Regions from separate parts of the Homo sapiens genome. Here all the other regions are linked to region 4. Evidence: promoter capture Hi-C in 16 types of primary human blood cells and fetal thymus (Javierre and others, 2016). All regions are on one chromosome and are shown on one strand. The core of a region is centred on a gene start or on the middle of the fragment in contact, and the rest is flanking DNA. Distances in the headings are between cores, read along the strand shown.

Region 1 (2,700 bases), core at 201-2,700, 260 kb before region 4:
TGATATCCAAGAAGTGGAAAAAGCTCAATGTCATAATGGATACATTTTATTATAAAATAGATAAAAATATTTTATGTCTGTACAATGAAATACTACTCAGTAATAAAAAGAAATTAACTGCTGATCTGTGCAAAAACATGGATAAAACTCAAAAACATTATGCTCAGTGAAAGACATCAGACTTACAAGAATTGCCAACTGTATCATTCTGCTTAACAGGAATTTCTAAAACCAGCAAAGCTCATGTTTATTGACAGTAAGTTGGCTGCTGCCTGGCTTCAGGGGTGAGGATGAACTGCAAAGCAACAGCGGGGAACATTTCCCTGTGTTGAAAATGTTTTATATCTTAACTGTTGTATCTTGACTGTTTTCCTTTTTGGAACAAAACTAAATTTCACTCAACCATACTTGAGTAATCTCTATATTTTTCTATACATGCTTTTCTAATAGTTCTTTGGATACAATCTTTTGTTAACAACAAAGGTAGAATATATTCATTTCCTCATGAATTTTCTGTCTTTTTTTTCTGTCCAAAAATGAAAAGAGCAATTTTGTTATCTGTCCTTTCCTTCTGCCCAGAAATGATTAAACCTGTATTTCTTATTCTCTTCATATTTTCTTTGTTTTAATTCCTTTGTACTACAGTTTCTTCTCTATTCTCATTTGCTTTTCCTCTTCAAGTTTCTCTCTCAGAACAAATGCAGTGTTAATCCCGAAGCCGCTTGCGGGACACTGGCTTCTTCTCCTCAGTTTCCTCCCTAATATATTTGTTGAGGGGTAATACAAAATCACTGGGAAACTGATTAGAGCAGATTTGAAGACAAAATTGTGGCCTGGTAACTTAGCAAAAGCATAATGGTGTCATCTTGTATGCTGATGATAACGTTCTGGGCACTTTGTTACTTTCGTTTTCTTTTTTCCCTCTGTGTGTCTTTGTGTGTGTTTGTGTGTGTGCTCACACCCACACGTGTGACTTTGCACGCATTTGTCTTTGAGAGAGAGATAATAGTTTTTGTTTTTCTTTCAGTAGCCAAAGTTTAAACCATTGCTTTTTCTTTGATTCTATCGCTTTTAAGGTGATCTTTCTTAACACAGGATAAGAAAGCAGTAATGTCCTAAAGAATGCTGTTGAATTAATTAGTATCAGCCTCTCCTACAGTTCTGGAAGGATACGTGGTTAAGTACCACTCCTGGATGAATCAGAAAAACAGCCACTTGAGCAATTTCGTGTTCTGTGGTTCAGATGAGAATCCCAGTTGAGAAAGTAAGAAAATATGTGTTTATTCTTCAGCTTTAAATTGTTATATCACAAACTTCCTTCCTCCTTGGCAAGCTTTCTTTTTTGACGAGAAGAAAATTGTAATAAACAACAGTATGACTAATAGATAGTCACATGGTTACTTCCAGTTTGCAAAATGCTATTTATACTTTGAGTTACTCTTCAAAAGTGGTATACCTCTAGTTTGGAGCTGTGCTGTAAAAACAAGAGTAACATTTTTATATTAAAGTTAAATAAAGTTACAACTTTGAAGAGAGTTTCTGCAAGACATGACACAAAGCTGCTAGCAGAAAATCAAAACGCTGATTAAAAGAAGCACGGTAAGAACATTTTTGTTTGTTTAGAATGACCGTTATTTATTGAAATTGTGATGCAGAATGTTAAAGCCTTCGAGAAAAGAATTAAATTTTGTGGTTTCTTTTGTGAAACTAGAAAATTCCTTCTTATAACAAGATTGAGATTTGCATATGACTGTTTTGTCCTAATAAATTCAGACTTACTTTACATTATTTGAATTACAATGGAGAAGGATTAACCATGACTTAAAACTGCTCAAGATTTAGTTTCATTTTTACTAAGTATTTTATAAAACAAATACTTGAGAAGATGATAGATATGATCCAGATACTCATACAGTTCTCAGAATGCATACATAATATGATAAATTTAGCCAATAGTTCTAATATTTTTAAAGATTGCTTTATTGGATGGTGTAAAGATACTCCGGGCTTTAGGAGTACTTAACGGAAAGAATATATCCCTTTCCTACTCTTACTAAGGAATTGCTAGTACTCCGATATCCATGGAGATGTCTTTACCAACCCTAAGAAGGATAAGGAAAGAAAATGTTCTAAAAAATACACTATGAAACAACCTGGTAACATTGGATTTATTAAATAGCAAGTTCGGAATATATAAGATCCAAGCTACATCTTTGAGATTTCAACAGGGTTTATTTATGTCAAAATATTTGAAAGAGAAAAGGCTGAAACTAAATGCATTCAATACAACGATCTATGATTTAGAGATTTAGGGACTGTGATGAGCTTTAAGCATTTCCCGTTTAACTAAATGTCAACCTACCAGCGTATGCTACGGTCAAAAAAATTATTGCTGTGGTACAATAGAATGCACACTTTATCCTTCCTCCCGTATTTTAACCGGTTTTATAATTCTGCCTAAAGTTAGATAAAACAGGTTTGCGGGGAATGAGATCAATATTTGATGGTAGCATAAAATATCATTTTAATCAAAAGTTTTAAGAAGGCCTTCCAGCCACTAGTAAAACCAGTGTTATTTTCTACTTTCAATCAATTGTATAAATTTATACATTTGTATATAAATACATTATATAATACAATATTATATATCATATTACATATGAATATATTTTAAAAGTTACTGAATAATATATTCAGTAT
Region 2 (2,700 bases), core at 139-2,638, 300 kb before region 4:
GGTCCAGTGAAGAATGGATTTGTTAACTTTTAATGGAACATATTAATGACAAAAGCCCTGTGTCTCTGGAGGATATAGAGTATGCTCTTTGTTGGAGGCAAGGACCTGTCCTCCTTTACCCTCTAAAAATCAGAGGGAGCAAGCTAGAATCTTACTGCTCTGAAAGAGAAAAGGTCCCTATTCCTAGACAGCCCATCAACACATGGGATCCCCTAGACCATCTTCCTCCACTCAATACCCCCAATTCTCCCCCTCAAGCAGCTGTTGCCACCTCAGACCCCACTCCAGATCCCTCCCCTGCTCACATTGTTCCCCACCCCTTACAACCCCAATTCTTGGGAATTATCATCCCATGAGCCAGCTCCTTACCAGCCTAAATACTCTTCTCTAAAAGGACTCCAACGTGAGGTAGAGCAATGTAAAAAGGATATTCAAAACTTCCCTTTATCCCCTATCCCTGGGGAATCAGCTCTGACTCTCTGCCCCTTAAAAGAGGTGCTGCAGGGAGGGGGTGCCATCAGCTTCATAAATGCTCCTCTAACCAGTTCAGAAGTTCCAGGCTTTAAAAAAGAACTCAAGCCGCTGTGAGATGACCCTCATCGAGTGGCAGATCAGGTCGGTGATCAATTTCTAGGACCCCAGTTATATACTTGGGCTGAGTTAATGCCCATCCTGGGCATCCTGTTTTCAGGGAGAGAAAGGGGCATGATCCTTAGGGCCACTATGGTAGTTTGAGAACATGAACACCCCCCAGTTAAAACGTTTCTACAGCAGACGAGGAATTCCGTGCCCAAGATCCCTGGTGGGACAATAACAACATAGCTCACTGGAAAAACCTGCAAGACCTGAGGGAGATGATGATAAAAAGAACTCAAGAATAAGTACCCTGGACTCAGACTCTGTCTCAGACACTCAGCACACAACAGGGGAAGGATGAAGAGCCTATAGAATTCTTAAACAGATTAAAGGAGCAAATGAAAAAATAAGCAGGCCTAGATTTATAAGATCCCCTAGGACAAGGAATGTTAAAGCTTCATTTTTTTACTAATAGTTGGGCAGACATTTCCAAGAAATTACAAAAGATAGAGGATTGGAAAGATCATCCTCTAAGTGAATTTCTCAGAGAAACTCAAAAGGTATATGTGAGAAGATACGAAGAAAAGCAAAAAGTGAAAGCAAAATTCATGCTATCCACCTATCAACAGGGGGCTCCAAATCAATACATTTCTAAACAAAGCCCCCAGGGGGCCAAAATCTATAAATGACCCAAACCTCCATTTAGAGGCTTCAAGCCCCCTATTAAAGGATCCGGGACCTCATTTGCCAGACCCTATAAAGAACACAGGGGGGCCAAGCCAAAGAATCCCAAAACAGAGAAAAGACAGAATAGATGTTTTAAATGTGGAAGAACAGGTCTCTTTAAGAGGGAATGTCCCGCATGGGAAAAATAAAAAGAAGTCCTTCCACTCATGACTTTTGAGGAAGAATAGGGGGGGCCAGGGGCTCTGTCTCTTTTATCTCAAGTCCCACCAAGAGCCCTTGATAAACTTAGAGGTGGGACCCAAATATGAACTCATAACGTTTTTAGTAGATTCAGGAGCAGCCCGCTCCTCTGTTTCCCTCCATCTGATATCACCTGCTCCTCAGAACTTTCTGTCTCAGGGGTAAAGGGAGAAGGATTTAAAGCTAAAATCTTAGAAGAAACAGAAGTCAGTATAAAAACCGATCAACTCATATGAAGCTTCTATTAATCCTGGAAGCAGAAATTAACCTGTTAGGAAGGGACTTAATGCTAGAACTAAGCATCAGCTTACATGTTGGCCCAGAGGGATTCCTCACCTCACTAAACCTACTTACCAGTGTGGGTGAAAGACACATCCATCCTGATGTCTGGTCAAGAGAAGAAAATCAAGGAAGACCTCAAGTCCTTCCAAAACACATAAAGCTGAAAACTGCTGGGGAGGTAGTAAGAAGAAAACAATATCCCATTCCCCTAGAAGGCAGAATAAGCTTGAGGCCCGTAATTTAAAGCGTCATTCAAGACGGGCTTCTTGAACCCTGCATGTCCTCTTTTAACACCCCAATACTGCCTGTAAAGAAATCAGACAGGTCATACCGACTAGCACAAGACCTCAGAGCTGTCAACCAATTAGTCCAGATGACTTATCCTTTTGTCCCTAACCCTTACACCATCCTCAGCAAAATCCCACGTGACCATCAATGGTTTACAGTAATACACTTAAAAGATACCTTTTGGGCCTGTCCTTTGGCTGAGGACAGTCGGGACATATTTGCTTTCGAATGGGAAGATCCTTATTCTGGACAGAAACAACAGTACTGATGGATAGTTTTGCCCCAAGGGTTCACAGATTCCCCTAGCCTTTTTGGCCAAATTTAGAACAGGTTTCAGAATAAATTCATACCCCAAAACACATATGTCTGCTCCAATATGTGGATGATCTTCTCATATCTGGTGAAAATGTAGAGAAAGTAGCTGCCTTCTCTACACACCTTCTTAACCATTTACAAGGGGAAGGACTATGAGTTTCAAAAGGAAAACTCAAGTTTGTAGAACGTGAAGTTACATATTTAGGGCACTTAATAAGTAAAGGCAAATGAAGGATGGGACCCGAACAAGTAGAAGGAATCAGATCCTTACCTTTGCCTCAAACTAAGCAGAAGCTCCAAAAATGTTTAGGA
Region 3 (2,700 bases), core at 32-2,531, 280 kb after region 4:
CAGCCCCATAGGACCTGGCCACCCCATAGTTCTTGTCCACCCCCCGTCCTCTCCCCTGCAGCCGCACCGCCCTCATTTTCAAACACAGCAGCCAAGTGCGCGCCTGCCTCCAGAACCTTGCACTGTACTTGTCTTTTTTTGTCTAGATGCTCTTCCCCCAAACACCTACCCTCCCTTCCTTGCAAGCCTTTCCTCGGAAGACACCTTCTCAGGGAGGCTTTGTCAAGCCCCACCCCATCTAAAATTTCAACACTCCCCAGCACTTCATATCCTCTTCCTGATTTATTTCTTCTTCTCAGGACATCTTCCTCTCTAATATTCTCTACCCTACTTACTAATCTTGTTTAATTGCCATCTCTCCCACCAGCATGTAGGCCTCTGAGAGCAGTGGGGAGCTGTGGATTATTTTGATGTGGTTTTGTTTGTTGTACCTAGAACACTTAGATTAGTGACTAATACAGTATATAGAAACTGGGAAAAGGAAGGAAGGGAAGGGAAGGGGAGGGAAGGGAAGGGAAGAGGAGGGGAGGGCATGTTCTCCTTACAACTCGATCCGACTCCCCTAGAAGAGGGGGCAGGGAAGGAGGGCAAAGCTAGGAGAGTTGAAGAATATTAAGAAGAGAATAAGGTAGCCAGAGTTAGCAAATAAAAATATAAAATGCCTAGTTAATTCTGAATTCCAGATAAAGAACAAATAATTTTTTAGCATAAGTATGTCCCAAACTAAGAATGGCACAAGACATATTTATGCTAAAGAAATTACGTATTCTCTAATAATAAATTATTTTCTCCAATGCACATTGATTTTGCATACTGTATTTTATCTGGCAACCCTAAAATAGAAGGACTACCCCCGTACTGCTTCACTCCAGCTGGACTCTTATCCTCTGTGACTACTCTCCTACCTTAGGAAAGATCCAAGTGGCCCCTTTCCTCCTCATCGCCATCCCTTGCCCTGCACATCTCGTTTTCCTGTGTCGCAGCAAGTCCAGCGCCTCCAAGACTTGGCTCTTCTCTCCCTCCTCAAACCCTTAAAAGAAAGGGCCAAGTCTGAACTCTTTGCCTTTGAGTCGTGGAGACACCAAAGATATTTAGGTTATAAGTCAAAGGGGAGAGGGAAGTCACATAGGTCCCACGGGCCTCAGACCTGCCACGTGTCCTCTCCCTAAGTCTCAAAGCTTAAGAAGACAAACCTTATGCGGCAGGAAGTGTTGGTTATAGCTGTTTTGCCACTCCTTCTGGTTATGTTATTTCTGTTCTTCTGATACTACAGCCCCCCTAGGTCATGAATTTCTCTGTCCATGCTAAGTTTAATATCTCTGCTCAAACCTTGTTAAACTGCCTCCAGAATAGGAAACTCTTCTTCCTGGCCTCATAAAGCTTGGAGCCCTCTCCAATGTATGTTACAAAATTTCTCTCTAGGCTTCTCAGAGGATTATAGGCTCCGCCTTAAAAAAGGCAAACTCTGGACACTCTGTGGAGTAGAATGGCCAAAGTTTAGAGTCAGGTGCACCCCCGCCCCCAGAAGGGTCACTGAACCTCGCAATTGTTCAGACTGTGTGGCGGGTTGTTGCTGGAACTCCCGGTCACCCCGATCAGTTTCCCTACATTGATCAATGGCTGAGTTTGGTCCGGAGCCCTCCTCCACGGCTCCGCTCATGCGCCATTCATAATTCTACCTCCAAGGTCCTTTTGAGCCAGACCTCACTTTCGCCTCGACCCTCAGCCGGCTCGGCTCCTCCTGTATTGCCTCCTTGTGAGGAAGAGGAAAGTTTCCTTCACCCAGTTCCACCGCCTTATAACCCTCCTGCTCCCTCAGAATGTTCTCTTGTCTCCTGCACTACCTCCCCTGTGGGCTCTCCACCTATTGCCTCCTGATCGCGGCCACGGCAGGAGGAGGTAGCCCCCCTCCTCCCGCTGAGGAGGCACAAGTCCCTCCGGGCGATAAGCACTCAGGCCCATTCTTAGTTTATGTCCGCTTCTCTACTTCTGACCTGTACAACTGGAAGACTCATAACCCCCCCTTTTCTGAAATGCCCCAGGTCTTGACCTCACTGATGGAGTCCATGCTCCGGACTCACCGGCCCACCTGGGAGGACTGTCAACAGCTCCTTTTAACCCTTTCCACCTCTGAAGAGAAGGAACGTACCCGAAGAGAGGCCAGAAAATATTTCCTTACATCAGACGGTAGACCAGAGGAGGAAGCTCATAACCTCCTAGAGGAGGTTTTCCCTCTACCCGGCCTAATTAGGATCCAAACTCCTCAGGCAGGAAGAGAGCTTTAGATGATTTTCACCAGTATCTCCTTGCGGGTATCAAAGGAGCTGCTCGAAAACCCATAAATTTGTCTAAGACATTTGAAGTTGTCCAGGGACCTGATGAGCCACCGGGGGCGTTTTTGGAACGCCTCCAGGAGGCCTACCGGAGTTACACCCCTTTTGACCCGGCGGCTCCCGAGAATAGCTGTGCTATTAATTTGGCATTTGTGGCTCAGGCAGGCCCTGATATTAAAAGAAAATTACAAAAACTGGAAGGATTTGCTGGAATGAACATTAGCCAACTTCTAGAGATAGCCCAGAAAGTTTTTGACAATCGAGAGTTTGAAAAGCGAAAACGGGCAGCTCAGGCAACTGAAAAGGCCGCCGATAAGGCATCCAAAAGACATGCGAAAATCTTAGTGGCGGCCATCCAGGAAGCCAA
Region 4 (2,745 bases), core at 225-2,724:
CTCAAAAGAAAACATTTATGCAGGCAACAGACACATGAAAAAATGCTCATCATCACTGGCCATCAGAGAAATGCAAATCTAAACCACAATGAGATACCATCTCACACCAGTTAGAATGACAGTCATTAAAAAGTCAGGAAAAAACAGGTGCTGGAGAGGATGTGGAGAAATAGGAACACTTTTACACTGTTGGTGGGACTCTAAACTAGTTCAACCATTGTGGAAGACAGTGTGGCGATTCCTCGAGGGACTAGAACTAGAATTTGACCCAGCCATCTCATTACTGGGTATATACCCAAAGGATTATAAATCACGCTGCTATAAAGACACATGCACACATATGTTTATTGTGGCACTATTCACAATAGCAAAGACTCGTGAACCATCCCAAATGTCTATCAATGATAGACTGGATTAAGAATATATGGCACATATGCACCATGGAATAGTATGCAGCCATAAAAAAGGATGAGTTCATGTCCTTTGTAGGGACATGGATGAAGCTGGAAACCATCATTCTGAGCAAACTATTGCAAGGACAGAAAACCAAACACCGCATGTTCTCACTCATAGGTTGGAATTGAACAATGAGAATATTTGGACACAGGGAGGGGAACACCACACACCGGGGCCTGTCGTGGGGTGGGGGGAGGGGGGAGGGATAGCATTAGGAGATATACCTAATGTAAATGACAAGTTAACGGGTGCAGCACACCAACATGGCACATGTATACATATGTAACAAACCTGTACATTGTGAACTTAAAGTATAATAATAATAAAAAAAGGTAAAAAAAAAAAAGTAGACACATACTATAATCACCTTGAAAAAAAAAGAAAGTCTTTCAAAGAGATAAAAAATTCCATATACTCCACTTCCTACAATTCTGGCAGTTTCCAAATACTTTTACTTATGTGAAAATGCTATCATATCCAAGAGTGCCTTTAGAGCTAAGCTAACAGTAGGCTACTGATCTTTAGCACATTGCTTTTTCTGTTGTGTTATTCAGGGGGCTTTCTCACATTTATGTTTCCATTTTTCACATTTCACAACTTTCTTTGGAGCACAGATATTTCAGGAAGATTTTAGAGCCTTTGAATAGCATTATGGACTTTTTTGCATTAATTTTTACTTTTACAAAATTGTGCTAAATATTATTTCTGTTAATTAGTGAGTTTTGTTGGGGGCCCCTTAAATTGGAACCCCAGGCTATGCCTCATTTGCTTCACTCTGGTCCTGGCCCTGAGAGAGGAACACAAAAGGGATGGTTAGAAAAACAAGAACAAATGAGCCTCCCAGAATTTTCTCAAACAACAGGCCAGTTAATTAAGGAAAGTAGATATTACATAGCTAGGTATAATGAACATGCAGTCAGTGGATTGTCTCAGTAATTTATGGAGATAACCACCAACAAAAAGTGTATGTGGGTGGGGACAAAAGAGAGACAACAAAGTACTGCAGGCAGAAAGCTTCCTTTTGCTGATTTTGCCTCACAGAATTGAGAGTTTGTTCTTACACACAAGTTTAATGCCACCTTCCTCTGTCTGCCATGGACCAACAAGCAATATATGCTGAGTTAAACTTACCCACAGACTCAGGCCCAGAAAGTTCTTCACCTTCATCTCTTCCTCGGGGTAAGTGGCTTTAATTTTCCTTTCGGCATTTGTATGTCTTCCAGAATTAGATCTTCCTGTTACATTTATGGCTTTAAATCATTGCTTTAAAGATGAGCAGTAGTTTTATATTAATGTTTAACGGGTGTTGCATGGCTTGCCTGTAGATAATCACAACTTTGGGAAAAAAAATTTAAACCTCATACATTTATTTTTTTCAATCAAGTTAGCATGAAAAGCAAACATCACTTGTCTTACTGAGCCTTGGTTAAAAGACTCTGAACACTTTAGGCTACCCTGGGCACACTGCCTATTGGTTACCCCTGCTCTACAGGGATGGAAAGAAGGAAGAAAGAAAGAAAGAAAGAAAAGAAAGAAAGAAAGAAAGAAAGAAAGAAAGAAAGAAAGAAAGAAAGAAAGGAAGAAAGAAAGAAAGAAAGGAAAGAAAGAGAAAGAAAAGAAGAAAGAAAGAAAGGAGAGAAAGAAAAAGAAAGAGAGAGAAAGGAAAGGAAAGAAAGAAAAAGAGAAGGAGGAAGGAAGGAAGGATGGAAGGAAGGAAGGAAAAATATTTTACATGTATGAACTAAGGAATATTTAAGACACATTGCAAACTTGCTGTAATAACAACCTACGTTATTCCAAATTCCTCTACAAAATATCAATACTATGATTAAGTCCCAGTGCATTTTCATCCATAATATTCCTTTCAGAATACAACGTGTAGGCCAGTTGCAGTGGCTCATGCCTGTAATCCCAACACTTTGGTAGGCTAAGGTGATTTGCTTGAGTCCAGGAGTTTAAGGCCAGCCTGGGCAATGTGGCAAAACCTCATCTCTACAAACAATACAAAAAAATAGCCAAGTGTGGGGCACGTGCCTGTGGTCCTAGCTACTCGGGAGGCTGAGGTGAGAGGATTGCTTGAGCCCAAGAGATCAAGGCTGCAGTGAGCTGTAATTGTGCCACTGTACTCCAGCCTGGGTGACACAGCAAGACTATCTCAAAAAAAAAAAAAAAATATATATATATATATATATATATATACTTTTTATACATATATTTTATATATTTTATATATATATATATACTTTTTATACATATATTTTATATATTTTATATATATATATATAAAGT
Region 5 (2,700 bases), core at 184-2,683, 260 kb after region 4:
CTTTTTTGTAAAGAGGACAACAGAAAACACACCAAAAAAGCAGAAAAATATGTGTCGGTGATAGTGGGAGAAACTTATAAATCATGGTCATATGTTACCCCAGAGAAGGCTTACACAAGGTCAGCTACAGTTTACCCAATAACGCTGTGATTGTCTGGTTCCTTGGCTTAGAAAGCTTAGTCTCTGCCAAGTGGCTAAAGCAGGAAAATCCAAGGTTACTCAGATTCTCTGTGATTTTGTTTTACCATTTAGGAAATAAACCCTACTACTGTGCTGTACACTATTTAGAAATCCACATAAGAAAGGGTTCTTCAATGTTTGGGGGGTCCAAGATAAAAACTATCTCACTTTGAGAAATTAGAAAATCATTCCTGTGATTCTACTCTGTTAAACCTTGTCACCCAAAATCCATTTAGAATGAAAGGCAGCACAAGGCAGCACCACGTTATTTTCTTACAGTCGCAATTTAGATTTAAAATTTTGGATTCCAAGAATTATAGGAGTTTTATGCCAGGAATCAAGATGAAGACCAGATATATATTTCATAATATCACAGTTTCTTGAGGTTCTTTAAATCCCAAACACACACTTCTCCATTGCCTCTGTCCCCACCCCTACCTGCCAGTTCTTACTCTTAAATGCCATCTACTAGACTGCAGCCTAAATTACACCTCAAACAAAACTATATCACAAGAAGCAGTGTCTGGGGAAGTCACTGCATGAACCTATTTGCAACTGAGGAACCCATACAAAGCCTTGGCACCCTGAAAGTACTCAGAAACCAAACCAGCTGATCATTAACAATATACAGCAGCCATATCCCTAGGGGAAAAAAGAATAAAAATTCAAGAAGCACCATCCAAACAATAGCAAATTCTGTCCAACCTCAGGATTTCTGGCCTCTCTAGTGTGAGCAGCTGCTCTGTCCTCAAAATCTCATTGGCCCCCTACTGCCTCCTCCTAAAGGATGCTCTCAAGTACCTCCCCAACATGTAGGGCCAGGTCTGAAAGGGCCTTGATCCTCGGCTGCTGGTGACTTTTCAAAGCAACTGTCTTTCCCTCCTTACCTTGCCCGTGGTCCGTTGTGCCCTTTCTTTGCTCCTTCTGCCTAATGCAGTAGTCACAAGACAAGGGAGCTTTCTGTCAACTGGCAGGACTTGAGCACAAGCAGCTGTGTGCCGTGGGGAGGAAATCTTGTGTTATTACACACCCAGGACCTCTGAGTCCACACAGCTTATCGTATACCTTATCCACACCTCTGGCTCCACTGGTTTTTGTTTTTGTTTAGAACATTTCCTTCTCCCTAAATCTGCCTTGGATCCTAGGCCCTTTTTTGCAGTAGTGCCTGATCTCCTGACTCAAAAACCCATTTTATGCAAGGGAAATGGTTGCAGATTTAGGAAACCGCTTTAAAAAACAGTTAACTAAAAATTTCAAGGTGCCTAAAAATCTAAAATAAAATCAAATATTTTTGTCCAGCAATCTATACCAAGAGTGTGCTAGATGCACAGTGAAAAGGATAGATGTGATACCAGCTCTAGTAGAGCCTGGACTCCGGTGAACACAGGCACTAAACAAATAGCTACAAGAGTGATGATTGTTACAAAAAAAAAAGAGGTGCAAGGTACTATAGGTGCCTATGGCAGGATTTGACCTAATCTGAGGGATTTGGGGAGTTTTTATCTCTGGTACTGACTGAATGACACTGAGCAAACAATTTAACCCTCTCTATAATTAATAGTATTTTTTCTGACCCTCCAAGCCCTCCCTGCTCCAGTCAGAGCTTCTGGGTCAATCAACTGTGATGACAAGGGAGGACACTGTCAACAGCAGGAAGGCTAGCTGCAGAGAGCAAACACATAGAGCCAGTGACAGTGGAGGCATAGAATAGGCCCCAGAGCACCAAGGCCACTGGAGGTAGAAAATGGGGGAAAGGCTCGTGGGCAAACAGTAAACTGCATGGGAGACATCCCACCTGTCCTATTCATTGTTATAAACCTGGCACTTAGCCTAGTGATTGTCAAATATTGATGGAATGCTTACTTACTCCTGTCAATTTCCATCCACAACTGCTTGACTCTGAAGGTGAGTGGTGAGCCCTCTTGGGAATGTTGGCAGGAGAAGATGACTCCACACATGGGCTGAACTGCAAATGGAGTGCATCAGATGACCACCACCTCCCTAGAGCAGATCACCCGTGGGCCAGCAGGTGTGTGCTCATCTATCTATCCCTTTCTACAAGAGTGTTCTCTAGCCCTGCCAAGCAACTGGCCCTGTTCACAATGCTGTCAGGTTATAACAAAATACGTGATAGCTCCATCTACACAGAAAGACTCATCTCAGATGAAAGTTTTTGTCAGGGGAGCGGTGAGAACAGCAGATTTGGGGATGTCCTGAGTAAAGCAATGGGGCAAGCTAAAACTGGGCTATGACCAGATGGTGAAATGGGTTGAAAAGGAGCTTATAGGTTAATCTGACAGACTTGGTTATGCATCTGGCAGAGGAAAAAGAGAGAAGTTAAAAATTTAGGAGAGAGATGATAACTGACAGAGCGTGGTCTTGAAGGTGGCAGGAGCTGAGGAAGGGAAATTCAGGTGAGCAGCTTTGTCTTGAAAAGAGGAGGAACACCACATGCAGGGCAGCAAGAGAAAGACTGGGGATGGGTAAGGCTAGGGATGGCTTCAAGCTTCCTAATGACAT

Evidence for each region. The method cuts DNA at HindIII sites, captures the fragments that hold promoters and counts their contacts. A CHiCAGO score of 5 or more calls a contact.
Region 1: the fragment with the promoter of CLEC2B here is called in contact with the fragment with the promoter of KLRB1 in region 4 in 4 of 17 cell types (naive B cells, naive CD4 T cells, non-activated CD4 T cells and 1 more); the score reaches 6.3 in naive B cells.
Region 2: a fragment that was not itself captured here is called in contact with the fragment with the promoter of KLRB1 in region 4 in 3 of 17 cell types (total CD4 T cells, naive B cells and naive CD4 T cells); the score reaches 5.3 in total CD4 T cells.
Region 3: a fragment that was not itself captured here is called in contact with the fragment with the promoter of KLRB1 in region 4 in 7 of 17 cell types (M0 macrophages, M1 macrophages, naive B cells and 4 more); the score reaches 8.1 in M0 macrophages.
Region 5: a contact is called between a fragment that was not itself captured here and the fragment with the promoter of KLRB1 in region 4, in 7 of 17 cell types (M0 macrophages, M2 macrophages, M1 macrophages and 4 more). The highest score is 7.5, in M0 macrophages.

What each region holds. Positions count from the first base shown.
Region 1 is chr12:9,868,104-9,870,803 of GRCh38, reverse strand. It overlaps CLEC2B (C-type lectin domain family 2 member B), which reads left to right and starts at 1,450. Exons shown (of 5, transcript NM_005127.3): 1 at 1,450-1,599. The HindIII fragment of the contact is 5,556 bases long and covers 1,336-2,700 here.
Region 2 is chr12:9,907,419-9,910,118 of GRCh38, reverse strand. It overlaps a transcript of CLEC2A not described here. Among named protein-coding and RNA genes, the nearest start is that of CLEC2A, 24 kb to the left of the region's middle. The HindIII fragment of the contact is 710 bases long and covers 1,034-1,743 here.
Region 3 is chr12:9,325,999-9,328,698 of GRCh38, reverse strand. No RefSeq gene overlaps it. Among named protein-coding and RNA genes, the nearest start is that of LINC02367, 40 kb to the left of the region's middle. The HindIII fragment of the contact is 202 bases long and covers 1,181-1,382 here.
Region 4 is chr12:9,606,645-9,609,389 of GRCh38, reverse strand. KLRB1 (killer cell lectin like receptor B1) reads left to right here and starts at 1,474. Exons shown (of 6, transcript NM_002258.3): 1 at 1,474-1,635. The coding sequence starts at 1,551. The HindIII fragment of the contact is 4,730 bases long and covers 1,473-2,745 here.
Region 5 is chr12:9,342,188-9,344,887 of GRCh38, reverse strand. It overlaps LOC105369649 (a long non-coding RNA gene), which reads left to right. Exons shown (of 3, transcript XR_007063205.1): 2 at 2,086-2,209. Among named protein-coding and RNA genes, the nearest start is that of LINC02367, 24 kb to the left of the region's middle. The HindIII fragment of the contact is 2,511 bases long and covers 178-2,688 here.